Linked DNA regions of Homo sapiens: regions 1, 3, 4, 5, 6 and 7 are each linked to region 2. The links are contacts of gene promoters, found by promoter capture Hi-C in blood cells and fetal thymus (Javierre and others, 2016). All regions are on one chromosome and are shown on one strand. Each heading gives the region's core, a stretch centred on a gene start or on the middle of the fragment in contact. The rest is flanking DNA. Distances are from core to core; before and after follow the strand shown.

Region 1 (3,793 bases), core at 438-2,937, 430 kb after region 2:
AAATTTGCTGAATTTAGCGTATTGGATACTGATGAACACACAAAGTTGAAAAATATTAATTCTCTTACAGACAATTTAAAATGGATTTTAAATTGCTACAAAATGTATTTATAGGAAGCAAGAGTGCTCCTACCTACAGGAGAAATATTAAGCACCCTGTCAATAAGTAGATGTTTGGATTTCATAAATTATCCCCACACATATAAAAATTTCTTCCTTATTATTCATCATGGATAACTGGTCCTAACAGGACTTACAAGGTCTCTCAAGTCACTTCCTGCTTGCTTAGATTTAAATCACAAAGCTTAAGATTTTTACGAGAGGCAAATACAGGTAACATTAGATTGGCTCCCAAAAGCATATCCTGAAATGTGTCTTGCAAAAACAGGCAACAAGAGAATATATGAAGCTGGCAAAGCTTACTCTTTTCAGCAATTAAACTTACTTTATAATCTAGTTTATCACTGAAATTATACATTCTCTAGATTCTTCACACCTATAGAGCCAACTACTCAGAGGTGTGAACTAGCAAAAAAAATTATTTGGAGTAAGGCTTGTTTCCTATACAGCATTTATTGTGCAGACTATACAGTTTTCCCTGTAACAGTGTTTCATATTCAATATTCATTTACAGGGCATAAATTAACTGTTAACATTACAGCAAATATCTAACAATCCATTAGTACTACAATAACATGTACATTTACCTCATTTCAGTCTAACCACAAAATATGTCAATTTTTTGAAAACACAGGGAGAAGTTTTCTGAATATTGTGGCATTAATCTAGTTCTAACAAAATATGCACTTTATGCTGTGTGCGCATATATACATACAGTTCAGCCATCAAAATTACAGATAGGGTTTGGCATATTGTGGAAAAACTGGGTAAAGCTGACAAAATAAAATAGGCAAGTTGGAGCCTAAAAACAAAACAAAAAACTTCTCTTTGTTTACAGTTGATCCTTGGTATAATCTAAAGACTTCCCCTCAAGCCATTAGTCCTTAGTGTCATTCATGAATTACTCCAATGGCACAGAAGTGGCATGAACGTAACTGCTGGAGAGGCTGGAGGCTGCAATATTTTACCCCAGACCTAAGGCTTTAAATGTCCCATAAAGACTTCAATGACAACAGAATAGAAAAGTAGAAAAGTATTTGGGAATAAATTAGCAAAAACAGCAGGTTAGCACCCCCCTTTTTAGATCACTGATTATTTCTATAATTGTATCCACAGTCCTAATGCTATTAGCCTTTCATTTTACCATGCAGATGTGACAGGAGAAAAGACAAAAAAATAATTCCCACTGCACCTCTCTTTTGAGGGAGAGGATGGTGGTGGGACTGGGAAAAGCCTAGGTGGTGGGACTGGGTAGAGCGGTGGTGGGACTGCTCTTGCCCACCTATGTATGCTCTTACAATCTGGTCCTATTCGTTCTTGCTTCCCTCTATTCACAAAGGCAGCTCCTGACTTAAGGGGCTATTCCTACCCCTAAATACTCCCTCAATACTCCCTGAGTATTTCTACTCAGTTCTCAGCCTCATCATCTCCTACCAGGGTCACACACCACCAATCTTCAGGTCTCCTTCATTTAAGCTCTGCTACTAAGCTGACCACTGCATCTGTTTCAGTAAATTCAACTTAGAGTGGTGATATTAACTTTTGAGACACGTTTTCCCTTAAGATAAAACTTGCAAATGTTCAGCTTAAATTCAAGAAATACAATATGTTATATTTTAAGAATGTCAGCTGGGCACAGTGGTGCACGCCTATAGTCCCAGGGTATTAGTCCGTTCTCATGCTGCTATGAAGAAATACCCAAGACTGGGTAACTTATAAAGAAAAGAGGTTTAATTGACTCACAGTTTCACATGGATGGGAAGGCCTCAGGAAACTTAGAATCATGGCAGAAGGGGAAGCAAACATGTCCTTCTACACAAGGTGGCAGGAGAGAAGTGCCAAGCAAACAGGGAAAAGTTCCTTATAAAACCATCAGATCTCATGGGAACTCACTCACTTTCACGAGAACGGCATGGGGGTAACCGCCCGCATGATACAATTACCTCCCACCAGCATGATGTGGGGATTATGGGAACTACAATTCAAGATGAGATTTGGGTGGGGACACAGCCAAACCATATCACCTGGCTACTAGAAAGGCTGAGGTAGGAGGATTGCTTGAGCCCAGGAGTTCCAGGCCAGCCTAGGTAACATCTCAAAACTCCATCTCTAGAAGGGGAAAAAGAAGCAAAGAATGAATTGCCTTCTTGGCCAGGCACGGTGACTCACGCTTGTAATCCCAGCACTTTGGAAGGCCGAGGTGGGTGGATCAACTGAGGTCAGGAGTTTAAGACCAGCCTGGGCAACACGGTGAAACCCTATCTCTACTAAAAATACAAAAATCAGCCAGGCGTGGTGACGTGCACCTGTGATCCCAGCTACTCAGGAGGCTGACGCATGATAATTGCTTGAACCTGGGATGCAGAAGTTGCAGAAAGCCAAGATTGCACCACTGTGCTACAGTCTGGGAGACAGAGAGAGACTCTGTCTCCCCCAAAAAAAAAAAAAAAAAAAAAAATTAATTGCCTACTCAAAAGTGGTGAATGAAGACGGGGTGGGTGTGAGGGGGAGGGGGTGGGGGTGGGGGTGGGGGAGCGAGGAGAGTCAATCTCTTTCCCAAAGAGTAAAAGACCAAGTAGTGGTTCAAACTTCTAAGATATATTTTTTTGAAGGATGAAATGATGGGCTTACTAACACTTTCTTCTTACATCTATTAAAGCATATCAGGGGGATGTTCAGAGAAGATGACAATGATCTTCCCAAGATTAGGGCTAACTGACTAATTTTTATCCAGTGAATCCAAGGTATCAGAATACATGATGTTTATATAATTCACAATTCCTAAAAGGTATCTATCTCCATATTAAGGCTATCAACTACTGATACAAAAGCTTTCTCCACTAGTGAGAAAAGCTCATGCACAACTAACCTACATATCCTCTGTCCCAGTAGGGTGTGTGTAACCAGACTGCCTGAGTTCAAATCCTGGCTCTATTTCTTAATTGCTGTGTAACCTTGGGCAAGTTACTTAACTTCTCTTGCTCTAGTTTTCTCCCTACAAATGAGAATAATAATACTATCTACCTAATAAAGTTATTTTGCAGATCAGATAATACATGTGGAAGTCTTAGAACGGTGCCTGACATATAGTAAATCTTGGATTAACCATGATTGCTATTCCTCTTCCGACTTCTTAAAAAGTTGCTAGCTTGAGACTAATGCAATGAAAATAATTTCTCTGGTATGAATTATAGCGAAGTCTTTGGCTTCATTAACAATGTACACTAACAAGCCAATCCTGGGGATACAAATACGAAAGTTTTCAGGGACCAGGTGGGTATCATGAATGTGTGAAGTTAGGTGGCCTAACACAACAGGGAGTGCTAGTCATTGTGGCTAACTGGCAAGTGTAAGTCTCACCTAAAGGCATGTGATTTCAAATGTAAAAAAAATAAAAACCTCCAAATACAAGACGTCTGTGCCTTGAAAGCCAAAAATGTAAGACCCTTGATTTAAACAGAGACAAATGAACTTATTATATAAAAGTTTTGAAAACTGCATTATTGATTCTGCATATCAGTAAAGAAATGATTGATCAGATATATGTGAAATAAATGCAAGGAACAAACAGGAAAGTTTAGAGGTATAATACACAAAGAATCAGACAGACCTGTTTGAATCCTGCCTAAGCTACTTAGAAACTGCATGACCATAAGAAAGTTACTTACTTTTA
Region 2 (3,768 bases), core at 813-3,312:
AGATAGTCTGTAGGGTGTTGGGAGGAAGGTATGTTTAGCAATGAGGGCAGACAGATAGACAGGAGCCATGTCCTACAGGGACTTGATAGTGTCGAATTCTAAGGATGATGGGAAACCATAGAAGGGTTTAAACCAGGTGATGGTAGTTGAGATTTTTGAAAGATAACTCTAGTGTGATCTAGTGTGAGAATGGACTATAGGGAAGACCAGACAGCAGGTGGGCAAGGAAAAGTGAATACAAGAGACTGGGAAGGAGCTGCCAGTGAGGCAGGAAGAAAACAAGGACAACATTTTCATGGAAGTCTTAAAAAGTCAGTCTTTCGGTATGAGGAGGGGAGATGGGAGAGGGCAGTAGGTAACAGAAAATCGACTCCTGGTTGTAGCAAGATAGAGCTTAGTGGCGTCCTTTAAGAGCCATTTCAGTGGAGTCAAGGGAGAAGGGAATAGAGGCTGAGGGAATAGGGGTAGCAATACATGTAGAAGATAAAGTATCACTGGGAGGGGAAGCAGAGAAATGATGAAGAGGATGGAGGGGGACCTAGGGTCAAGGGAGGATGATGTTAAGGTATGTGTGTGTGTGGACTGGAATGATACCACAGGGAGGGAGGATTTGATAATGCAGGAGAGTGGATCTTTGTAGGGGCCGTGTACCTCATTATGGGAGAGGGGCTGGATCTCTAGCTCAAGGAGAAGATTGACTTTAGGTAGAATTGAGGTTCCTTCTTTTCCTGTAACAGGAGGAAAGGCAGAGTATGTAGAATAGATGTACCCAGATTGAAAGAGGCAAAAATGGAAGCCTTACCTTCATGTTGACAGTGCTTGTGCCTTGGTGGGTCTTTGTGGTATATCATGGCCTCAAGCTCTGTTTTTGCAGGTCCACTGAGTTATTTGTGCTATATATATTCTTTTCCTACCCAGGCCATCTATCTCAGATACAGATCTGTTTACATGTCTGTCTCCCCCACTAAACTGGCATCTCTTCAACAAGAGTAGTTATCTTTGTATCTCCAGACATAGCTCAGTGTTTGGCAAGAACTGAGTTGAAGGAATGACAGCTACATCAGTAGAAAGGACTCATATAACAGCTACACAAACATGCGGTAGAAAGGAAAGTAATTCAAGAGCATGAATAAAATTAAGTGTTTATATCTTAGAATAATTAATATGATTTCTCTCTTTTAAGTGGAATACATTGTTACTGAACACCAGAATTGAGGGGTAGCTAAAAGTAAAAAAAAAAAAAAAAGAAAGAGAAAGGATCACCTCACACCTCACTACCATCTGGAAAGAAGATGAGCTTTTAACAGCCCCTTTCAGTAGGGACGAGTTAGTGCCTGGCATGCTTTGGTGGGAAGCACATTTCTAGGTTCAGGAGAAAGTGAGAATCAAACGTGTCTGGGAAAAGGAGATCCCAGTGTGATCAGCTTGCTTGTGGAAGATTAGCAGGGGTTGGGGGCGTAGAGGGCTTCGGGCAAGAGTAAATGTTAATGAGAGATGGCTTAAGCAGACTTGTGCCCAAACGAGTGAGAACAATTTGACAGGAAGTTCAGTTGAGCATGTGTAGCACTTCTCCAAATGCTTTCTTCTTGGACTGGGAAGAAACACAACAAAACAAAATAGTTACTTTCCCCTTCAACATTATACAGCACATCCTAAATGAAACATGACTTTCTGAGTTACAAGCTGCCCCTGGCAAAAAGGCTGGTTATAATCTCAGTGTGTTCCCTGAAACTAATGTTCCTTGGGCACTCCAGATTTGTGTGACGTACTGTAAGTTATATCCAACTGAACTGTTCTTTTAACTGCCTGCATTAAGCATCATCAAATAAGTTGCGCTGAAAGGAACCACCTGAATAAAGAAGCTTTTATACCTTTGTAAGTCCTCACTGCATGACCCTAGGTCACTGCTGTTGAACTTGGGAGCTTTCTCTCCCACTTTTCACTCTCTTGCCTTTAATGGATGGGGGTCTCCACACCAGGTTTTCTTTCTCTCTCATCTGCCAGGTGCTAGCAAATGGTGCTGCCAGCCTCATTAGGGGAGAGGGGGTAGTGTGGAGGCAGGCACTGGCCCCTCCCTCATGTGCCCCGCTTCCCAGAGGCCTATGGGATACCAACTGAAAAGAGGTCGTGAGCAGAGCTGCTCACCCTGGAATTCATTTTCTCTAGACTCATTAAAATGCTGCCTTCCTATCTCCCTTGGATTTTTACTTTTCAAAACACTTTACGATGTGCGGCCTCATTTTATTTTACATTAAGCTGACAACCTAACATCTCACCAAGTATCAACTGGGAATACAATTTTGCACTCACTGTGCTGTGCCATCTTGCCAAGTTTTGTCTTTGTTACTCAGCTCTCATTCAGAAAGGAATTAATTTGAATTATATGATGCTATGGTTGTCTCCTTGAAGAAGGGCTAGATTCCTGCACACCTTGGGAAAGTATCTATCTGTGAATGTACTTGAATCTTCCAGGTTATATGCCATTCTTCTCTCTTCTTTCCCTTTCACATCATCATGGGCTCCTCTCACGTTAGAATAAACCTTTCTGTTTTGCCTCTCCCTACTCAATGGGATTTCCATTGTTTCTGTCTTCACTTCCTTTTACCTGGGAGAAGCTGATACTGATGGAAAGGCATTTTTGAGTCTAGATATAAAGCTCTTTGTTTAAAGAGCATTTTTAAAAGAAGGGAATTTTTACATTGCCAAAGGTACCCAGGTGTTGCCTTCCTTCCCCATGAGGATTTTGCACAGAGCGCACATTCATACCCACTATCTCTTAGTGTCAGCCTGTGTGATGGCTATATGCTGTCTACCAACACTACAGTCTGTTTGGGAAGCGCCAAATCTTGGGTAGGCACTGGATCTAAAACTGGCACTGGAATCATCCACTCAGAGGAAGAAAGATTGAGGTCAGGTGGGGAATAAGACAGGCAAGTTGTCAGGCTTCTTTTCAGATGGTTCTCAGAGTACACTTCCATTACTTAGAACAGTGGGTTTGGTGGGGGGTTTTGGCGTGTTCTATAGCTGAGCTACAAGCAAAATTAGAGCTTTTTACTTATATACTACTTTGCATGGAGGTAGTCTCAGGGTCCCAGTTACAGCACTGATTTCTTGAAAAGAGTTTGATGTTCTGGCCCATGCTTAATTTAAATGAGAGGCTAAAAGCAGATTGTGTAACCCACCAATGCCCATTTGACAGGACTTGCACCAATCTGACCTACACTTTCATAAGAGCTCCTAAGCAGAGTGCTGTACTGTGGGTCTTCTGCCTTAACTCCAGGAATGGCAGAGATGAGCTACTGTTTATTGAGCACCGACAAAGGAGAGGTACTCTGAGTGTTGAATGCATGCTGTCTCTCAGCCCACAAGAGCCCTGCAAAGGAAGTGCATTGCTCCCCGTATTTATGGATGAGGAAGCTGAGTATCAAGAAGCTTGCTCAGAATCATGCAGCTAGCAAGGAGCAAGGCAGGGTTTCAGAGCTACGTTTATCTGTTTCCAAAGAGTACACTCTCCCCTCAATTCCCAGTAGTACTTCTCCAGTAAATCTTAAGTATTGTATTGCTTTTTTCCCTTCTATTTCTCTTAGCAGTCTATAGAAAAGAGCGTTTATTTAAAGATTTTAGTGCTCATCTGGGCATAGTGACTCATGCCTGTAATCTCCACACCTTGGGAGGCCGAGGCAGGAGGATCGCTTGAGCCCAGGAGTTCCAGACCAGCCTGGGCAACATGACGGAACCCTTTCTCTACCAAAAATACAAAAGTTAGCT
Region 3 (3,513 bases), core at 440-2,939, 390 kb after region 2:
CTGACTTCTTAGTAGTAACATGGAATACTAGAAGACAAGAATGCAATTACTTTTTTTTTTGAAACAGCATCTCAGCTCTGTTGCCCAGGCTGGAGTGCAGTGGTGCAATCATGGCTCGCTGTAGCCACGACCTCCTGGGCTCAGGTGATCCTCATACTTCAGTTTCCCAAGTAGCTGGGACCACAGGTGCGCACCACTATGCCTGGCTAATTTTCTGTATTGATTGTAGACACAAAGCCTCACCATGTTGCCCAGGCTGGTCTCCAATTCCTGGGCTCAAGCAATCCACCCACCTCCACCTCCCAAAGTGCTGGGAATTACAGGTATGAGCCACCGTGTCTGGCTGAAGCAATGACTTTCATCCGAGAATTGTTACTCAAATTTTCCAACATAATGGAAGCAGAAAAAAATTTTCAGATATGCAGGAACTCTAACACTGCTTCTTTTAGGCACTAACTTGGGGGTGTATTTGGAAAAATGAGAGAATAAAAGCTTGAGCAGTGAAAGGAAATTCTAGGATGTCACCGCGGGCTTACAGAATCTAGTTCAGATTGGAGAGGAAAGACCGGTAGGCGCTAGGAAAAAGGTTTCAGGTGAAAGGTGTAAATACAGAGTTAGGAAGTAAGTGGTGACGTAAAACCAAATACTGTAGAAAAAAAAAGAAAGGCAATTATAAATGCCAGGGGTGGGGGGACCTGTATTAAAAAGCTATAATGCAAATATAAGGCAAACTAAGATGTGGCATGATTTTTGAGCAACTGATGGAATATAATAAAGGATCAATTTGGCTTTGCTGTAGTAACATTCTTTTTCCATGGCTCAGAGATTCTTATGCAATGGCTCACAGATGCTAGCCCTGAAAAGTAAATGAAAGCTTGCTTTCTAAATAGTTCACCATTAACTGTTTTCATTAGACCCATAGAAAAAGAAATATATTCTTAGCATGTATCACGGTGGCCTGACAGGGAACGTTTACAGAGTCATAATAATGTAAATGTCATATATTGGGCTTTCAATTTTTTAGGAACAACCTATGAACATACATGGAGGATTTGCTTCTGGTTACAGCCTGACTGTAAATACAGGTTGAGTATCCCTAATCCTCAAATCTGAAATCCAAAATGCTACAAAATGTTGAGCTCTGGAACATGGTGCTCAAAGGAAATGCTCATTGGAGTATTTCAGATTTGGGATTCTCAGATTTGGGATGATCAACCAGTAAGTATAATGCAAATATTAAAAAATCTGAAACCTGAAACGCTTCTGGACCCCAGCAGTTTGGATAAAGGGATACTCAACCTGTATTAACTAACAACCATGACATATAAAAATTACAAGTGTAGCCGACCGAAGATATGATGAATAAGTATTTCCAATCAGATGTATTAATATCCTCATTAAGAGATGATGCTGAAAGTTGATGGATCAGGAAAGAATGAAAATCAACAATAAAATAGCAAACACTGGGATGAGGAATAGTATAAGCTAAATCTTCCTATTTCATGCCAGTTGACATCTCAAAAAGGAGGACTTTAAGCATTATTTTCCTCTCATAATTACAAGGTAACCTACAGAACAAAGGTACTAAAACTGTCAAGAGAGAAACACTGGTCAGCTTTGTGGAGTAGGATCATATCCAAGTTATTACTTTCTTTTCTAAGCTATTCTGTGATATGGTGTGTTACCATATGTTACTTTTATAAAAATGAAATCTTATTAAAAAACAAAGAGAGCACCACTTGTTCCCCTTTGCTTTTTTTTTTTCTTCTGGATTAAATGCAGTACCCATGGAAAGTGTTACTTTGGCCCACTATAAACTTAAACTACTTAATGACAGCTTGAATTAGCTACTACTTGTAGATGCTATCTTCCCTCCTCAGTCCACAATAGTTCCTTCCTTATACCCTCAGCTCTCTGCTGCTACTTACAACTTATGGTATTATTTTTTCCTTTAATCAGAACACGGCGACCACCTTTTCTAGGAGAAACTCCCTAGTTCATCTTGTCTCAGCTAACTATCTACTCATTTACTGAGAAAATCTCTGACTGTATGTCCTTCCTTACACTCTTAGATAGAAATAACCCTTCTGGGTTTCTGCCTCTGCTGAGTCTTGCTTGTATGCCTCTTCCATTTCTCCTCTAATCTTTTCTATTTCTCTTCCTGGATCCCTTTTCTTTGTATTTTAGTAGGGGCAAAATAGTTCACTATTTTAACCACCTCCACACCAAAAAATGCCCGACCCTGTCTCTCCCTCCAACCACCACTATTTGCTAGTTTTTAATGGTTCAATTAACTCCATAATGAATGATTTCTGTCTGCTGCCTTTATTTCCTTGTTATCAAGGCCCTCTTTAATGATTTCAGGCTTTCGTTTCCCACACATTACACAAACTTCGTTCAGGTTTTCCAGTGATCTTCTGCTAGCCATGGCCATAGCTTTCCTTAGTCCTCACATTTCCTGATCCCTCTTCTCATGCATCTTTCATGATCCTGTGGGAAGCTTTCTCCTTTCTTTAGCTTCCTTAACTCACTGGCTCCTCTTTCTCTTTCCTGCCCTGAAACACAGTCCTTACCCCCCATTCTTCTTCTTTATTCATTTGCACAGTTTTAATCATTGTTTCTAAATTAGCAATTTCTAAAACAGGCTCATATTTATAATTTTCTATAGGACTATAATAATTTAACTCATCAGAAACTGAAAATAGTTTCAATCAAGTTTTCTTCCTACTCCTTCCCTGTCAGTTACATCTTTCTTCCCTCAGTTCTCCAGATTTATACTTTGCAGTCTTTCTTCAGCCAACTCTAATCAGCCATCAAATCCTGTCAATTACTCTTTTCAAACATATCTTAATCAGATTTATCTCTCTTTCTCTATTCCACTGGCCACTACCCACAGAACATTCCTGAATAAATCAGTAGGAACTGGTTTTTTTGGCAAGTCAAGTATTACTTTATATGCAAAAGGAAAAACCTATTTACATTAACCCAATGGCAAGGCATTTTATAGACTGAAGGATCCTCCTATAACATTAATTCTTAGTTTATGTAGCTTATACTACTGGGATTAGCATGTATTAGGCTTCTTCAAAACTGAGATACACCTAGGCACACCTTAAGGCATCAGAGAAAAACTACAATATCTCTAACAGTAGGAAGTCTCCTGATAGGTTAGTTTTGAGGGTACTACACATAAAGATGTGTATTTACTTAAAGGCACAAATGACAAATACATGAAGTACCAGAATGCTGATAAACTCCTGGATCAAACCGGAAAGCCCTTTCCAAAAAGTATTCTTCTGTGGCTCCGTTACAGATTTCTCCTATCTCAAAGGTCTCATTACTGTGATTTAGTGAAGTTGAGCACTCGAAGTTGAACAGAGCTGTATCTCAGTTTTTCCAAGTACTAGGTGCTCATGTGCTACTCAAAAGCATTGCCAAGTCACATTTGAAGTTTTCCATTCACTGGAAAACACAGTCCTACTCCTAGACTTTCCCTCCACATTCTAGTATCCC
Region 4 (3,699 bases), core at 941-3,440, 460 kb after region 2:
AGAACCTTCAATGTTACATAAGAGCAGTGTTTTTTTCCTCCGGTTCCACCTTACTTTCCCTAGTCAATGAAAAATTCTAGTCCTGGGGGTATCATTGAAATTTAAAGCTTCCTTGGTTTTATCAAGGGAAAAAAAAGCTAGGGAATCACTAACTCATATGAAGAAGATAAACATGTAGCTATGAATAGCATAGTCCTCCCTTCTTTCCTACCTCTTCTCTCACCTGCACCTTTTAAAAAGGGCACAGTAGCAGACTTTAATGCTCACTGGCTTTCATAGACAAATCATTAATCTTCTCCACATTACTTATCGCGGCAGCTGGGATAATGTTTGCTCTAATCTAACAGATTTTCATTTCAAAACCAATTGTAAAGCTCAGCAGGGTGCTATATACAACTTTAATGAGAGCTTCTTACCCAAGACTCCTCCAATATGTGCTTTTTCTGAATTGTTGAATTTTACTAGTTGGAGGTTGTTAAATGAAGAAAGGAAAAGGTTAACCAAGAAACAGAATTTTTAAAATGTATTTCCTTTCATATATTTTCTGTTCATATAAGTATAAAACACTAATAAATTTGACCCAGCTGATGACAGAATTTATCTTCTGTGATTTCTAAGCCAGCTCTATGTAACTCCTTTATAGACCATTTTACATAGCATCCTTTGGCTCCCTACACTTAATGCAGAGCAAGAGAGTAGCTATGTAAACCTGCTGACAGCTGTTTAATACGAGAGGTGGAAAGTAGTGGACATATCCTGGCAGTGTGCTTAATGGATACACAAACACCACGGTCATCAGCCTGAAGTGATTCTGGCAGAAAATTAACTTAGAGATACAAAACTCATTTGGTGAGAAGATCCACAGCAATCTGGACAATATCAGGCTGTGTAATGGGGAGAGAGGCAAAATAAGGAGATGTATTTTCCTAAACTTCCCTTTAAGGAGGAAGAATTTTAAAAATATTTTTTATCCACATGCCATTACATAGTTGTCTTGCTTTAACACAAAAGCCAGCAGTTGTCTCCTCTTTGGAAAGCAAATGCTACCATTTATTTATAAATAATGCAATAAATAGAGGGATAGAGTTATGTTGGAGACTTGTTTGTTAATACAAAAGTATTACTAAAGCACAGTATTTTTTTGAGATAATTTGAAACATGTTTTTTTTTTTAACCACCAAGTGATTCTACTTAAAAAAAAATTTTTAATTATCTTTCCGATCACTATGATGTTTAAGTCAGATGAAGGAAGAAAACTAATGTGTGTTGGATTATAAATTATAACACTGTGCTTTAAGAATATAATTAATATATACATTATCTTCCAATTCTCGTAACTACTCTGGAGGCAGGTATAATTATTCTCATTTTACATATGAGAAAACAAAGTTAGATACATTAATCTGTCTATCTCACACAGCAGTTAGGTAACAAAGCTATGATTTGCCCATGTGCCTGGATCTACAGTCTATGCCATGCAGGCCCATCCTGCAGTTAAACAGCAAAGGCATTATGAGAAGGCCAAAATAGTGTTTTGAGGCTGGGTGTGGTGGCTCACGCCTGTAATCCCAGCACTTTGGAAGACGAAGGCGGGCAGATAACTTGAGGCCAGGAGTTTGAGACCAGCCTGGCCACCATACTGAAACCGTCTCTACTAAAAATACAAAAATTAGCTGGGTGTGGTGGCATGTGCCGGTAATCCCAGCTACTTGGGAGGCCGAGGCAGGAAAATGACTTGAACCCAGGAGGCAGAGGTTGCAGTGAGCCGAGATCGTGCCACACTGTACTACAGCCTGGGCAACAGAGTGAGACTCCATCTCAAAAAACAAACACAAAATGGTGTTTTGATATTAATGTTTAAGATGTCTTTCATCAAAAACATAAGCCTAGTTAACTATAAAAAGCAAACCGAAGAAGCATTTAAAGAAAACATAAATTTTTCTAAGGGACAACCTTCAGAATGACCCAAAAAAACCCCAGAAGCCATAAAAGTAAAGACTAATATATTTGACTACGTAAAAATAAAAACTTTCTGTATTTCAACATATGCCATACATGATCAAATGACAAATTGTTGGAGAAAATATTTGCAACACACAGTATAGAAAAGGACTCATTTTCTTAATGTGAAAAGGGCTCCCACAAATAAAAAAGACCCAAAGTCTAATAGAAAAAATGGACAAAGAGCATGAACACAAAATTCACAGAAATCTGAATTACTCTTTAAGTGTATTAAAAATGTTCAACCTCAACATATACAAACTAAAGCAAAATAAGATATCATTTTAACAAATCTATCAGGCCGGGTGTGGTGCCTCATGCCTGTAATCCCAGCACTTTGGGAGGCCGAGGTGGGTGGATCACGAGGTCAGGAGTTCAAGACCAGCCTGACCAAGATGGTGAAACCCTGTATCTACTAAAAATACAAACATCAGCTGGGCGTAGTGGCAGATGCCTGTAATCTCAGCTACTTGGGAGGCTGAGACAGAATTGCTTGAACCCAGGAGGTGGAGGTTGCAGTGAGCCCAGATGGCGCCACTGCACTTCAGCCTGAGTGACAGAGTGACACTCTGTCCCAAAAAAAAAAGTCTATCAGATTGGCAAAAATAAAAAGTTTCTTCTCTGCTGCCAGGAGAATGGACTCTCAAACACTGCCAGTGGGAGTGTAAATTATTTCAACCTCTACAGAGGGCAATTTGGCAATATCAAAATGAAAAGTGCACATACACTTTGACCCATCAATTCTACATCAAAGAGTTGATCTTACAGATATAATCTTGCATGTACAAAGTACCCTACATACACAAATAATAACTGGAGAGTTGTTTTAGTAAAAGCCTAGGAGGGGGTAATCTAAATACTCCAAAACAGAGAACTGGTTTAATAAATGGCAGTATAATGTAAAACTATACAGCCACAATAAAAGAATGAGCATTGGTACCGATACGAAATGACCTCCAAGAAATTCTGAGTAGAAAGAAAAGGGCACAGCAGAGGTGTAAATATGAAAAACAAAATGAGTATAAATGTGTGGATGGGGATCAGGAGCAGGTGGGAGATTTAGCGTATACCCTTATACCTTTTAAAAATTCTGTGGAATGTGTGTACTTCCCCTTCAAAAACTTAGTATGTTTTTATGTTTAAAAAAATAAAACGTTATATGTTTTGAAAATAGAATGTAAAGAGGAAAACGTTACCTGATAATGGCTTTATTGTAATCACTTGTGATATATTACAAAACAATAGTTTTAGGTTCTTTGTATTTCATTTCAAAATGCAAACCTAACTAAAATGTTCTTCATTTATTAATATGAGAAGATACTAAAGGAATGTGTAGTATCAGTGGGCCCCTTTTATAATAAAGATTATGGATGATGAGGCTAATGACCATTTTATAAAAATAGGAGTCAGGTTACAGGTGATATTACCTGACCCATCTTATTCCAAAAGCCACATATAAACATGCTAAACTCATATTATATTAAGATAACTGGCACCTCAACTGTGATAGTATAATGTCATTTTAGTCCACCAACAACTGCAAAAGGGAGCTGATCCTCAAAGTCCGCAAAAAGGAGGGAAGGGCAAATTATAAGTAGTTTTCTGGGAACCTAGGAAAAGGCATACTTTTGAGAATGAGATAAGACTTGGGGGAGGGGACAATACCCAAAACCAGAGATCAAGAATGCTGACACGAAT
Region 5 (3,732 bases), core at 656-3,155, 370 kb after region 2:
CACTAAGCAGTGAGATGTAGCTCTAAGGAGATATGCATTAAGAACATGGGGATGTTTTTGTCTTTTTTGCATGTGTGAGAATAAAGGGTGTTTAGAGGCAAACATACTATGCTCCTGATTTCTCAAGCCCCAAACCTATATCGCATGCACTACTGTAGCAAACTTACAGTACTCAGAAGAAGAACGAAAGACTTCAGCCACTTAAATTTCCAAAGCTGGGCCAAGGTGTTAAGGATATAGTCTCCATCACGCCACTGGGGGAGATGCTTACCGCAGCGACACGATCCCAATTCCTGCTGCACCAGCTCCAGTTTGGTTTGGCACTGGAAGCACCGACGTCGACTCTTCTGTTTAGATCGACTGGTTTCCTCGGACCGTTCCGTATTCTCAAGTAGTCGTGGCCGTTTTACTGGTGAAGCCTCATTCTCAGACTGTGAATCTGACCAAAACAACATATTTGGGGATCAGGATTAGTGCCTGGCCTGGCAAGCACAGTTGATTAATGTATTTCCAGGCATTCTCCTGACCAGGCTACTGCCCTTGTCCAGGAATCAGACAGGTGAGAGCCAGTTCTGACTTGCTTGGTTTATACTGCACAAACTATGACAAACGTGTACCTTTAGTGCTGACTTCTAACAAGCTAGGCCTGAGCTGGAGAGGAGGGTGTGGGTGGCTCAACAAAAACCAGTTCTATGTTGTTGTTTTTAAAAAGAGCTGAGATTCTATGAGGAGACCATTCCAGCTAGAAATGGGGTCCTGTCTTTGTATTCCCTTGCTGGGACCTAGATGCTTACTGCCTGTATTGGTTAGATATCTTTTCTTGGGCATTTGCTTGTCCTCAAGTAGACCGTAATTCTTTAGAGATGGGACTATGTCTAATGTATCTCTGTATCACTATGCTTTCACAATTCCATTCCCAAAGCCAGCGTTTGATGAGTGATCTGTAATCTTTTATAGTAAAATTACTCACGTTTCTACTCTTAAAGACACAGAAGTCAGGTTCTAATACTGACAATTAGTTCAATTTGATTCAGAATGAAGGGGCACCTCTGCTGGTACACATGCAAGCTGCCCTATGAACTCCACCATGGGGTGGTGCAGCAGCAGCAGCACCAGGCACCCCACCTTGAGGTGGAGCCAAAATGGTAGGTGGAGGGGGGTGTACTCTGTGAAAACTGTGTCTTGCACAACTTCAAAAAAGTAATTAAGACGCAACAAAGCTCTTATCACAGGCAAGGCTGTAAACGACTCTTGCCTTCAATAAACTGGGCAGCTCTTTGGGGCTCTGTATTCCTGAAACAGCTGCTTGCATACCCACGATGTACCTCTTACCAAGTTCCAAATTGTTTGTGCTAAATTACTTCCAGAAGGGAGTCTCCTAAACAGTCTTCCTCAAAATAATCCAGATGCCACACCTCTTACCCCTCTGTCACCCCCACCTTGGTCTAAGCCATTACCAACTCATCAAGCCTACTACAAGAGCCTCTTCACTGGTCTCTCTGCTCATCCCCTTGTTTCTACAGTCTATTCTCCACATAGCAGACAAGTGACTCTGTTAAAAATCAAGTTAGATCATGTTACTTCCCTGCTCAAAACCCTCTAATAGCTCCCCTTGTCAGAGTGAAAGTCCAGATACTTAGACTCTCAAATACCCTGCATGACTTGCCCCACGCTCAGCTCCTGCTGCTTTCCTTCCTTTGCTTATCTCTACACTAGCCTCCTTATTGTCTCCTACCTGTGGTACTTTGTACCTTCTATTCCCTCTGTCTGAAACACTCTTCACCCAGATCTACATGGGATCTTATCTCTTTTATCACCCAGGCCCCTGATGGTGATGATGGTAGTTTGCTCACAGTCCCCCAGCCCTGCTGCACTGTACTGGCATATGGAGGCCCTGCATCATTCCCTTTGATATCTTTGCTCCAACGTCACATTTTCTTTTAAATTTTATTTTGCAAAGTCACATTTTCATTGAAGGCTTCTTCCCTGATCATCACTTCTAGATCACTGAATCCCTATTCTTAGCACTTCCCCTCGTCTGTTTCCCTTTTATTCCTCCACAGCACTTATCTTTAACATTATGCCCTAAAAGAAAGCAAACTCCAAGAGGGCAGGAAATTTCACCTGCTTTGTTTACTGATGTTCCCTCCATGCCTATGGCTCAATAAATATTTTTTGAATGAATGAATTTGTCTCCTAGGCAGTCCTAATGTTCTACTTAAAGTGGCTCTAGTGAGAAGCCACAGCCTATAGGATGTATTTTAGTGAAGGCTGTCTGTATGCCCTTTCCTAGCCTCCCTGTGTGTGAGGAAGATGCTGCACTTCACCCAAGATTGTCCAGTGGACCCCGATGGTGATGCTGGTAGTTTGCTCATAGTCCCCCAGCCCTGCTGTGCTGTACTGGCATATGGAGGCCCTGCACCATTCTTAGCAACTACAGACTTCATTTTTCATCTCATTTAATTCTTCCAGTCCTACATGACATTTTGCCCCAATACAAACCAACTAAATAAGGACTCTGATGAAAACAATTGAAGGCAAGTTCAGCCTATTTCCCAGCTCTGCTGAGCAAAGCTGTCCAGGCCCAGTCAGTGTGGTGAGTAAGGTGGCTACAGATAGGGCAGGCGCTCTCCCTTCTTCTACAAGAGCAACAAGCAACAATTTAAATATAAATCATTACAAAGCAGTCAGCTGAAAGAAATTCACCTTGTATGAGCCACACTGCTCTCTGCGGGCGGGGTCCTTTTACACAAACCAGCAATGGCTCTATTTGTATCAATAACCCTATTTAGAATTTTTTTTTTGTAACAAGAAAATTCTAGGGTAAAAACTGTAACAAAAAATGTTTTTTTCTGAGACAAAGTCCTAAATTCAAAGCATCCTTATAGGAAATTACTCCCACTGGGAGGCAGGTGTCAGCACAAGATGGGGAGGCAGCTGAGGCCTTTTCATTATTACTATGATTAAAATCTGGAGGGCCTTGGCACAATGCCAGCACACCTCTACTCTAACACAGAACTGCTCAGACCCTGAGCCCCTTTCTTTCACACCTCTGTGTCTGAAAATGCAGAGTTCACATTTAGAGCTCTTTCTACATGAATCTATCCCAAACCGTCAAACATGCTGTTCATCTGCAAAGCACCCATTTCTAAAACAAACCTTTCCTGCAAGGAGAAGACAATTTAATTTCACTGTGTCAATGAAGCCGGGGGAAAAAATAAAGACAAAAAGAATTTCAGTGTGGCAATATTATCCATAAGGTAACTATGTCCAAATAAGTAAGGGAGTTAGATATGTGAAGAAAAATTTTTTAAATGTATGAGTCCTATGGCTGAGAAATAGAATTCATATTTACATAATCACAATCATTAGTCATCACCAAACAACCCACTTTGATGGGACCCCCCAACCCCTGCCCTGCAAAGTTAGGAGGCCTGTGCAGTCTTGACCTCTTTTTCTCTTAATTCCCCATCTTACCTGACCAATGGGCATTCAATAGCAACACTAAGGAATGTCTACATGATCCCATGCTGAGATTTTCCTTGATCTATTCCACATTAATATAAAGACCACTGAGTTATTTGTTCTGGTAGGCAGTAGGCATGGAATATTCTTGAACAATGAATCCTAAAGGAGGTTTCTGATGCTGCCACAGCTTCTGGTATGATATACTGATCATCCTAAAAGAACACCATTAAGCCCTACTCGATCCTCTGACAATCAATGTCCCAG
Region 6 (3,981 bases), core at 1,301-3,800, 480 kb after region 2:
TACAAAAAAAAAAAAACACAAAAATTAGCTGGTCGTGGTGGTGCATGACTGTAGTCCCAGCTACTTGGGAGGCTGAAGTGGGAGGATTGCTAGAGCCCAAGAGGCAGGGGTTGCAGTGAGCTGAGATCACACTGATGCACTCCAGCCTGGGCGACAAAAGTGAGGCACCGTCTCAAAAAAAAAAAAAGATTATGGATGGTTTTTAATACTAAAGGTTCATTTACTCATATTTCATTAATTGCATTTATAATAAAATACAATGTACAAGCTGTTTTAATTATTATAAACTAAATTAAAATACAGCGGTATAGAGGAGAGGGGGCAGATGACTATGGCAGTTTATTTGCTCAGTGCATCCCAGGAATAGCTTTCATTTCAGGCCTACACTTTGTGCATCCAAAGTCAGAAGCACACTTATGAGATCAATTTAGTTCAGCATGTGGAAGAATGGCATTCAGTGAGCTATGCCATCACGTCACATAAAGAAAATGTAACCATGGCTGCAGAGATTTCGTTGGGTCACTCTAAACTGTTACCAAGATATGTAACTGAACTGTGGATCCTTTCAACAAATCTCTATATGAGGGGCTGAATATAGAGAACCAACGAACTAAGATCATTGTCATCTTCCTGAAAGATGAGAAGTAACATTCTTTGCCTACCATCATTGGAGGCAACGTTGATGGCCTTCTGGTTTTGATAATTATAGTCATTCTGTCCAAGTGTGGCATTTTCCCCCCAGCCCTCTTCTCGTGTTAGCAAGGTATGTGGCTTTTTAAAAAGAAAATATCAATAATTGAACTTAGCATAGGGAAGGCCCAGATGAAGCCAGCGAATCTGCTCACAGAAAAAAAATAAGATCTGCTCTCTCATCTACTGGGAGATAATATCAACCAATCCTCGAAATTCTAAAGACTTGGTGTCGTACTGATTGCTTTTTCCTTTAGGATGATCTAGAGTAGCATCGAACAAATTGTGGACTATCATAGGGTGTTTTATTTTGTTTTTATTGTTGTTGTTTTTTTGAGACAGGGTCTCACTCTTTCACCCAGGCTGCAGTGCAGTGGCAATTGCAACCTCCACCTCCTGGGCTCAAGTGATTCTCCCACCTCAGCCTCTTGAGTAGCTGGGACTACAGGCACAACACCGAGCCAGGCTAATTTTTGGATTTTTTGTAGAGACGGGATTTCACCATATTGCCTAGCCTTGTCTCGGATTCCTGGGTTCAAGCAATCCGCCCGCCTCAGCCTCTCAAAGCGCTGTGATTACAGGTGTGAGCCAACATAACTGGCCTAGAATATCGTGTTGTAACCACATATTTTCCCAAAACTGTATGCACTGTGCAAAAAGTAAACCTGGGAAACATTTGATGTTAAACTGTTTTCTTTAAAAAAAAAAAAAAAAGAAAAGAAAATACAGTAGTGTAATTTAGAACTAAACTATAAGCTTCCTGAGGGTATCATCTTTGTATCCATTATGTCTTCATTGAGCTTGCAAGTATTTATTGTTGAACTAAGCCTAGTTTATGTTTCTATAGGCTTAGTACGCATGAATATTTATAGTATATCTTCTTAAGGAAAACAACATCTCTTGAGTATTCTATAATTCAGCCGTTTTATTGAATAGGACAAAATCTCAGGCTTTCTGCATTTAAAATGTTCACACTTGACTGTATTTTCACTGGTAAAAATGTACTTCTCTAGTAATACAATAAATTTGATCAAGGATGCTAAACTCTGTATTCACCTAATATATCAATATTTAGACTAAAAGAAAAGACTAAAAGACAAAAAGAAAAGATAACAGACCAACAGCCATAACTCAATTCTCTTGTGTGCAACTACTTTTTACTCCTAGGGACAAAGGAGTTGCCTTTACTTTTATTCCTCTGACCTTCTCTACAGAGCTTGCCGGAAGCTATGGGAATGCACAAATACATGTTTATCCATGTTCTGAAAGAGGTTTTCCAAGCTGAATAAACCAGACATCTCACTCCACCAACTACATCATACAAATTTAGTTTATTTACATATGACCAAGGGATGAATTAATGGCTGAAAAAAAAAGTGCTAACATCAACCCTGTGATTTTATGAAGTAAAAAGTAATTCTAAATTCTAGAGCTCTGAACCTTTGGCCAAAAGCCCACTAAAAGATAAGACTGTAATAGAGTTTATGTTGCTCTGCTCTGTGCAAAGATCCTAGGAAAAATAAATGAACTGGGCAGGAAAGAACACCAGGATGGAGATCATTTGTAACAGAACACAGACTGTCTTACAAGATACATTTGCATCAGCCCTTCAGTTCCCAGTCCTAACTATGATTTCAGGAGCACCTTGTGCCTTCCAGAAGGTCAAACACTAGTAGTAATGGATCTGTGAAGAGGAGAGCAGTGAACCAGTGTCAGAAATAACAAAGCATTGTTTCTAGGGGATTATTATTCAACTGGAAGTTGGGACTGTCCTACTCCAGGTCAAGAGAAAGTAACTTATTTAAAAGAATGAATAAAAATGAGTTAGAATACTTTCTACACTAAGGGTGGTCAGAGTTATTTTGAAGATTTTTTAAAAATCTCCTTAGTAAAAGGATATACAAGCATTCTTGCATTTCTAAATTACCCTGCATTCTTCAACCTATTCTCCTTCAAGTGTGATTAGAGCGAACTCTGAGCTTTATTCAGTGCATCAGAGGAAGGTCCAGTGCCTATAATTTTCTCATTCATGAATATTTCTACTTCTAAAAAGAAAGAAGCATTAAGCAGAAGGTAGGCGCAAGACTCAGTCAGTGATATGGTTTGGTTGTGTCCCCACCCAAATCTCATTTTGGAATAAAAGTAAAGACAACTCCTTTGTCTCTAGGAGTAAAAAGTAGTTACACACAAGAGAACTGAGTTATGGCTGTTGGTCTGATATCTTTTCTTTTTGTCTTTTAGTCTTTTCTTTTAGTCTAAATATTGATATATTAGGTGAATACAGAGTTTAGCATCCTTGATCTAATTTATTGTTTTACTAGAGAATAATTCCTACGTGTCATGGGAGGGACAAGTGGGAGGTAACTGAATCATGGGGGCAGGTCTTTCCCAGGCGGTTCTCCTGACAGTAAATAAGTTAAGTCTCATGAGATCTGATGGTTTCATAAAGGGGAGGTCCCTTACACGAGCTCTCTTGCCTGCCACCATGTAAGATGTGTCTCTGCTTCTCCTTTGTCTTCTGCCATGATTGTGAGGCCTCCCCAGCCATGCCAAAATGTGAGTCCATTAAACCTCTTTCCTTTATAAATTACCCTGTCTTGGGTATGTCTTTATTAGCAGTATAAGAATGAACTAATAAATACAGTCAGGATCTATGAAATTTTCGCTCTTTCACAAATTTGTTTGGAGGGCATGGGAAATACAGTTTCTCAATTTCAGAATTAGATGAGAAGAATTTATAATTAATTAATGGAAGGTGCTATGGGTCTCGCAAATGATCAATATCAATCTGAGATCAACATCATCTCAAAACCTCTCAGGATCATCACAGTAAGTTTTTTGGTTTGTTTGGTATCTGAATTTGCTTTTATTTTTTTAAAAATTGTTTAAACTCCAATAGGGGGATAAGTAAAAGCAATTCTACTTGTGCCACCCAGAAGTATTTTCCTTTTTTAAAAAAGCTTTATTTATTTTTTCCTTCTAATCAATGGAATCTATAAAGCTTTATTTTTTAGTAATAGTTTTAGATTTATAAAAAGGTTGCCAGGATAGTACAGAGAATTCCCATATACTCAGGAGCCAATTTCTCCTATCATTAATATCTTACACTAGTATGGTATATTTGTTACAATTAACGAGCCAATATTGACACCCTATTAACTAAAGTCCACACTTGCTCAGATTTCCTTAGTTTTTACCTGATGTTCTTTTCCCATTCCAGGATCTCATCCAGGACACCACATTAGATTTAGTTGTCATGTCTCTTTATGTTCCTCTTAGCTGTGATAGTTT
Region 7 (3,896 bases), core at 1,301-3,800, 410 kb after region 2:
CCACAGCTGGAATATGATGAGTGACACTAAACAGAAATTACCTTAGTCCAACTGTCTTGCTTTACAGGCAGAAGTGAACACTGTCAGGTCTTAATAATAGGATCTCTCTTTGCAACTAATAGTTGAAAATGTCACAATTTTAATTGTGTAGTGAAGGGATTATACTGATATTTCAGAATTTTAAAAATTCCTCACTAAGGTGCCATCTTATTGTTTTTATTAAATCTAAAGAATCATCTTTTTGATGGATCAAAAAGTGAGATGGTTTATAAAGTAACAGAGGCCATGAATACAAAATGTACAGTTACATAGTCATTTTTTGGCATTGGCAGCTCTGAATTTTCAGAAAGAAGTTCACAAGCACAATTAAAATATATTTATGTAAGCTTAAAATGGCTGCTTCAACACATTCACATAAATGCCATTATGTTTTTTTTTCAGCCAAACATTTTTGTCATAAATAAAGCTTAGATTTAATTTAAAATCAGCACAGTGTCACATATTACTTGTACCTACACAAAATAAAAATATGACGAGTGCAAGAGCTAAAGCTGTGTGAAGTGTGGTTGTTTACATGACCTTTACTTTCACAGAGAAGGACAGAGCATTTAATTTAATACGAACATTTAAAGAAATCCATATTGGGGGCAGGGGGGACAGTGATGATGTTGCTTGAAAATCTAGTTTGAATATCAGTAACTGTATAATCTCACAAGTGACTGAGGTAATCTTTTGGGAAACTAACCTTTCAGATCTGCAGACTTCTTAAGGGACTTTTGAAAATGAGTATTAAAAGCTTGCTAGTATTCTCTCTTGCAAGTGGGAATCTTCAAGAGGGAAATTTAGGTGATAAATACCAACGAGCAAAAATGGTTATTTTACAACAGGCAAGTGCCTATTTGTACTGAAGACAGAGACAGAGACAGAGAGAGAGAGAGAGAGAGAGAGAAACAGAAAATGACTCTCATTATTCCAAAAGTCTGAGATGAATTGTTACCACCACAAAGCATCCAAATTTTCAAAATCTGGTAGGGACACTGCCTTTTTTTGAGTTGCTTTGTCTTGGGGTTACTGTATGGTACAGAAAATTATTTTAAAAAATTAAGTAGCTATTCAAAAATCAGGTACAGGCAATGAGAAGTCCCTTCTTTAATGTATCAAAACACATAAAGTAGGTTTCTAAAAGTAAGAAAAATTAAAAACAAAACTTTTCCTAAATATTTAAATCACTAACCATTTATTGAGTACTATGCCAGCAGTGTGCTAGGTGTTCTGGGACAGAGCAAAGTAGCATAAAATAAAGCCTCTGCTAATTTGGTGCTTAGTCTCTAAACTTGTGCAGAGAGATGACATTCTCTTGCCAAGAACATAGAAGAAGGTTTGAATAAATAAAGACAAACTATATTCCTTTATGAGAAGACCCAAAAGTTTATTAAAATGTCAATTATTCTGAAAAAAATCTATATATTCAATATAATCCAAATCAGAAGCTACTGATACATACTATAAAGGTATATTCCAGTTTCAGAAATATACAGGTTGACCAATAAAACAAAATAAAGAGCCTAGGAACAGATCTATGTCTTTATGTAATAGTATTAGCATTTTAAACTAGGACTATTCAATGAATGGTTTTTGCATAACTGGTTATCCACTTGGGAAAAAAAAATAAAGGTAAATCTCTATGCCTTAAATACAAAATAAATTCCAGATGGGCTCAAGAGCTAACGATAGAAAAAGATAAACCATGAAAGTATTAAATGTACATAGAAAAATATTTTTATAACTCTACGATTCAGACAGCCTTCTAAGAAAGACAGAAAACTGGAAGACAAAAGACCAACAGACTTAAAGTTTAAAAAATTCTAATGAATACAAGGCACTCAAATGAAAATTAAAAGCCAAGTAACATACCAAAAGAAACTGGCAATATATGTAACAAATACTTATCTAGAATTCTTTTTTTACATATATGTAACAAATACTTATCCAGAATTTGTTACATATATATATATATATAAAAGAATTCCTACAAATCAGTAAGAAAAAAATAGCTAATAAAAAATAAATAAGCAAAGAACAACACTGATAGGCAAATCACTGGAGACTTATAAATTGCTAATAAACACATAAAACAATGCTGAATCTCACTATCAGGAGATGTCTGGAAAACACAAGTTAAAATGAGCTATTCTTTTGCCCAACTTATTAAAAAAAAAGAAGAAGAAACAAAGAAAAAACCCACCTAATATTGGTAATGCTGTGGTAAACAATCACTCTCAAACATCATTCTTAGGAATATAAAGTCATACAGTCATTTTGGAAGGTAATATTGCCATGCAAATCAAAATTTTAAATATACATATTCTCTGACTTGTTAGTTCCTCTTCTATGTATTTATCATGGAAAAATAACATATGCACCATTAGCCACGTACAAAACTGTTTACTTGACATGGCTCATAATAGTGAAATATTAAAAACAACCTCCAGAGAAGAGAGTAGAGAAAAGGATAGTAAGGGCAATATAGAATATTATGCAGGAGTAAGGCAGATCTCCATGTGTAGACTTGGAAAGAGCTCTAAAATATATTAAGTTAAAAAGCAGTTATAAAACAATATATACAGTATGCTGTCATTTATATAAAAATAAAATCTTTTTTTTTTTTTTTTAGACTAAGTTTCATTCTTGTTGCCCAGGCTAGAGTGATCTCGGCTCACTGCAACCTTCGCCTCTCGGGTTCAAGCGATTCTCCTGCCTCAGCCCCCCGAGTAGCTGGAATTACAGGGGCCTGACACCATGCCAGGCTAATTTTTGTATTTTTAGTAGAGGTGGGGGTTTCACCATGTTGACCAGGTTAGTCTTGAACTCCTGACCTGGTGATCTGCCCACCTCAGCCTCCCAAAGTGCTGGGATTACAGGCGCAAGCCACAGCACCCAGCCAAGATAAAATCTTGTATGTAAACATGTACACAGCTGCATAGAAAAAATACAACCCATAATGAATAAACAGCGGTTATTTCTGTAAAAAGTAGGAATTGGGTGGTGGTGATTGATGGTGGTGACGTTAGAATATTTTCATGTTCTATTCTATCTAAACCTGTGTCTTTGTAATTCAAAAATTGAGAATGTAGTCATGTTTTACTTGCATACTTAAAAATAGGATTAAAAGTTTTGAAAAAGAAAAGCAAGCCAGAAAATGAATAACTTAAAAATCATGGTTTTGCTTTAATCTGGTTCTTATTTTGACTACAAATGGAAGGTCAGATGATACTACCAGTACTTAAACAAGTTCCTATCCAACTGACATTATGGAACAGAAAGAATTTCTATAAGAAAACACTGCTGAACTGCTCAACTCCTGTATTTTGACAGAGATTAACTTAATGATCTCACACATTGATTTTTGATAAATTATGGCTCTTCACTTCAATATAGCATATAACTGTACATTATTATACTGTACTGCAAAGTATCAATCTTTTCAGAACACAGCCCTAATAAAAGCAGCATGCTTTGCAGAACCAGCTTTGGGATGAATGAATAAATGCACTGGGGAAAAAAACACCGTTAAATTAAAATCAAAAGAGACATTTAAAGTTTGGGCATTCTTCATTATGGGAAAGAATCTTCCACTTTGAGACTATTATATATCGGAAAAACTCCATCTGTTGTATAATTATCTCTGATAAATGGCCTGATGCTTTGAGCTTCATTAGAGAAAAGCAAAGAGAAAGACACACACACAGAGAACTGTAAATAAATCTCCCCACCATATTTCACTTAAAACCAGCCCAGCAGGAAGTCATAAAATATTTTTTAATAGGCAATATTTTCTAAATGCTTTACTAGAAGAAACCAGCCTGTTTTGCCCAATATCTGGCCTCCTGAAGTAG

What was found. Contacts are between HindIII fragments. The CHiCAGO score rates a contact against its expected background, and 5 or more counts as called.
Region 1: a contact is called between a fragment that was not itself captured here and the fragment with the promoter of BTBD9-AS1 in region 2, in 3 of 17 cell types (M2 macrophages, M1 macrophages and endothelial precursors). The highest score is 7.4, in M2 macrophages.
Region 3: a contact is called between a fragment that was not itself captured here and the fragment with the promoter of BTBD9-AS1 in region 2, in 1 of 17 cell types (M2 macrophages). The highest score is 5.7, in M2 macrophages.
Region 4: a fragment that was not itself captured here is called in contact with the fragment with the promoter of BTBD9-AS1 in region 2 in 3 of 17 cell types (M2 macrophages, M1 macrophages and M0 macrophages); the score reaches 14.0 in M2 macrophages.
Region 5: a contact is called between a fragment that was not itself captured here and the fragment with the promoter of BTBD9-AS1 in region 2, in 2 of 17 cell types (M1 macrophages and endothelial precursors). The highest score is 6.1, in M1 macrophages.
Region 6: a contact is called between a fragment that was not itself captured here and the fragment with the promoter of BTBD9-AS1 in region 2, in 1 of 17 cell types (M2 macrophages). The highest score is 5.5, in M2 macrophages.
Region 7: a fragment that was not itself captured here is called in contact with the fragment with the promoter of BTBD9-AS1 in region 2 in 2 of 17 cell types (M2 macrophages and M1 macrophages); the score reaches 6.0 in M2 macrophages.

The regions. Positions count from the first base shown.
Region 1 is chr6:38,048,731-38,052,523 of GRCh38, reverse strand. All of the region lies in intron 2 of ZFAND3 (zinc finger AN1-type containing 3), which reads right to left. Among named protein-coding and RNA genes, the nearest start is that of ZFAND3, 230 kb to the right of the region's middle. The HindIII fragment of the contact is 2,533 bases long and covers 421-2,953 here.
Region 2 is chr6:38,479,890-38,483,657 of GRCh38, reverse strand. BTBD9-AS1 (BTBD9 antisense RNA 1) reads right to left here and starts at 2,062. Exons shown (of 2, transcript NR_144472.1): 1 at 1,872-2,062; 2 at 1,131-1,591. The region is part of intron 6 of BTBD9 (BTB domain containing 9); the gene reads left to right. The HindIII fragment of the contact is 1,570 bases long and covers 1,865-3,434 here.
Region 3 is chr6:38,092,581-38,096,093 of GRCh38, reverse strand. All of the region lies in intron 4 of ZFAND3 (zinc finger AN1-type containing 3), which reads right to left. Among named protein-coding and RNA genes, the nearest start is that of ZFAND3, 270 kb to the right of the region's middle. The HindIII fragment of the contact is 1,626 bases long and covers 877-2,502 here.
Region 4 is chr6:38,017,859-38,021,557 of GRCh38, reverse strand. The region is part of intron 2 of ZFAND3 (zinc finger AN1-type containing 3); the gene reads right to left. Among named protein-coding and RNA genes, the nearest start is that of ZFAND3, 200 kb to the right of the region's middle. The HindIII fragment of the contact is 4,161 bases long and covers 110-3,699 here.
Region 5 is chr6:38,113,279-38,117,010 of GRCh38, reverse strand. It overlaps ZFAND3 (zinc finger AN1-type containing 3), which reads right to left. Exons shown (of 6, transcript NM_021943.3): 5 at 272-439. Among named protein-coding and RNA genes, the nearest start is that of ZFAND3, 300 kb to the right of the region's middle. The HindIII fragment of the contact is 4,171 bases long and covers 1-3,732 here.
Region 6 is chr6:37,999,709-38,003,689 of GRCh38, reverse strand. The region is part of intron 2 of ZFAND3 (zinc finger AN1-type containing 3); the gene reads right to left. It also overlaps the pseudogene ITGAEP1. Among named protein-coding and RNA genes, the nearest start is that of ZFAND3, 180 kb to the right of the region's middle. The HindIII fragment of the contact is 2,204 bases long and covers 1,449-3,652 here.
Region 7 is chr6:38,069,190-38,073,085 of GRCh38, reverse strand. The region is part of intron 3 of ZFAND3 (zinc finger AN1-type containing 3); the gene reads right to left. Among named protein-coding and RNA genes, the nearest start is that of ZFAND3, 250 kb to the right of the region's middle. The HindIII fragment of the contact is 3,504 bases long and covers 799-3,896 here.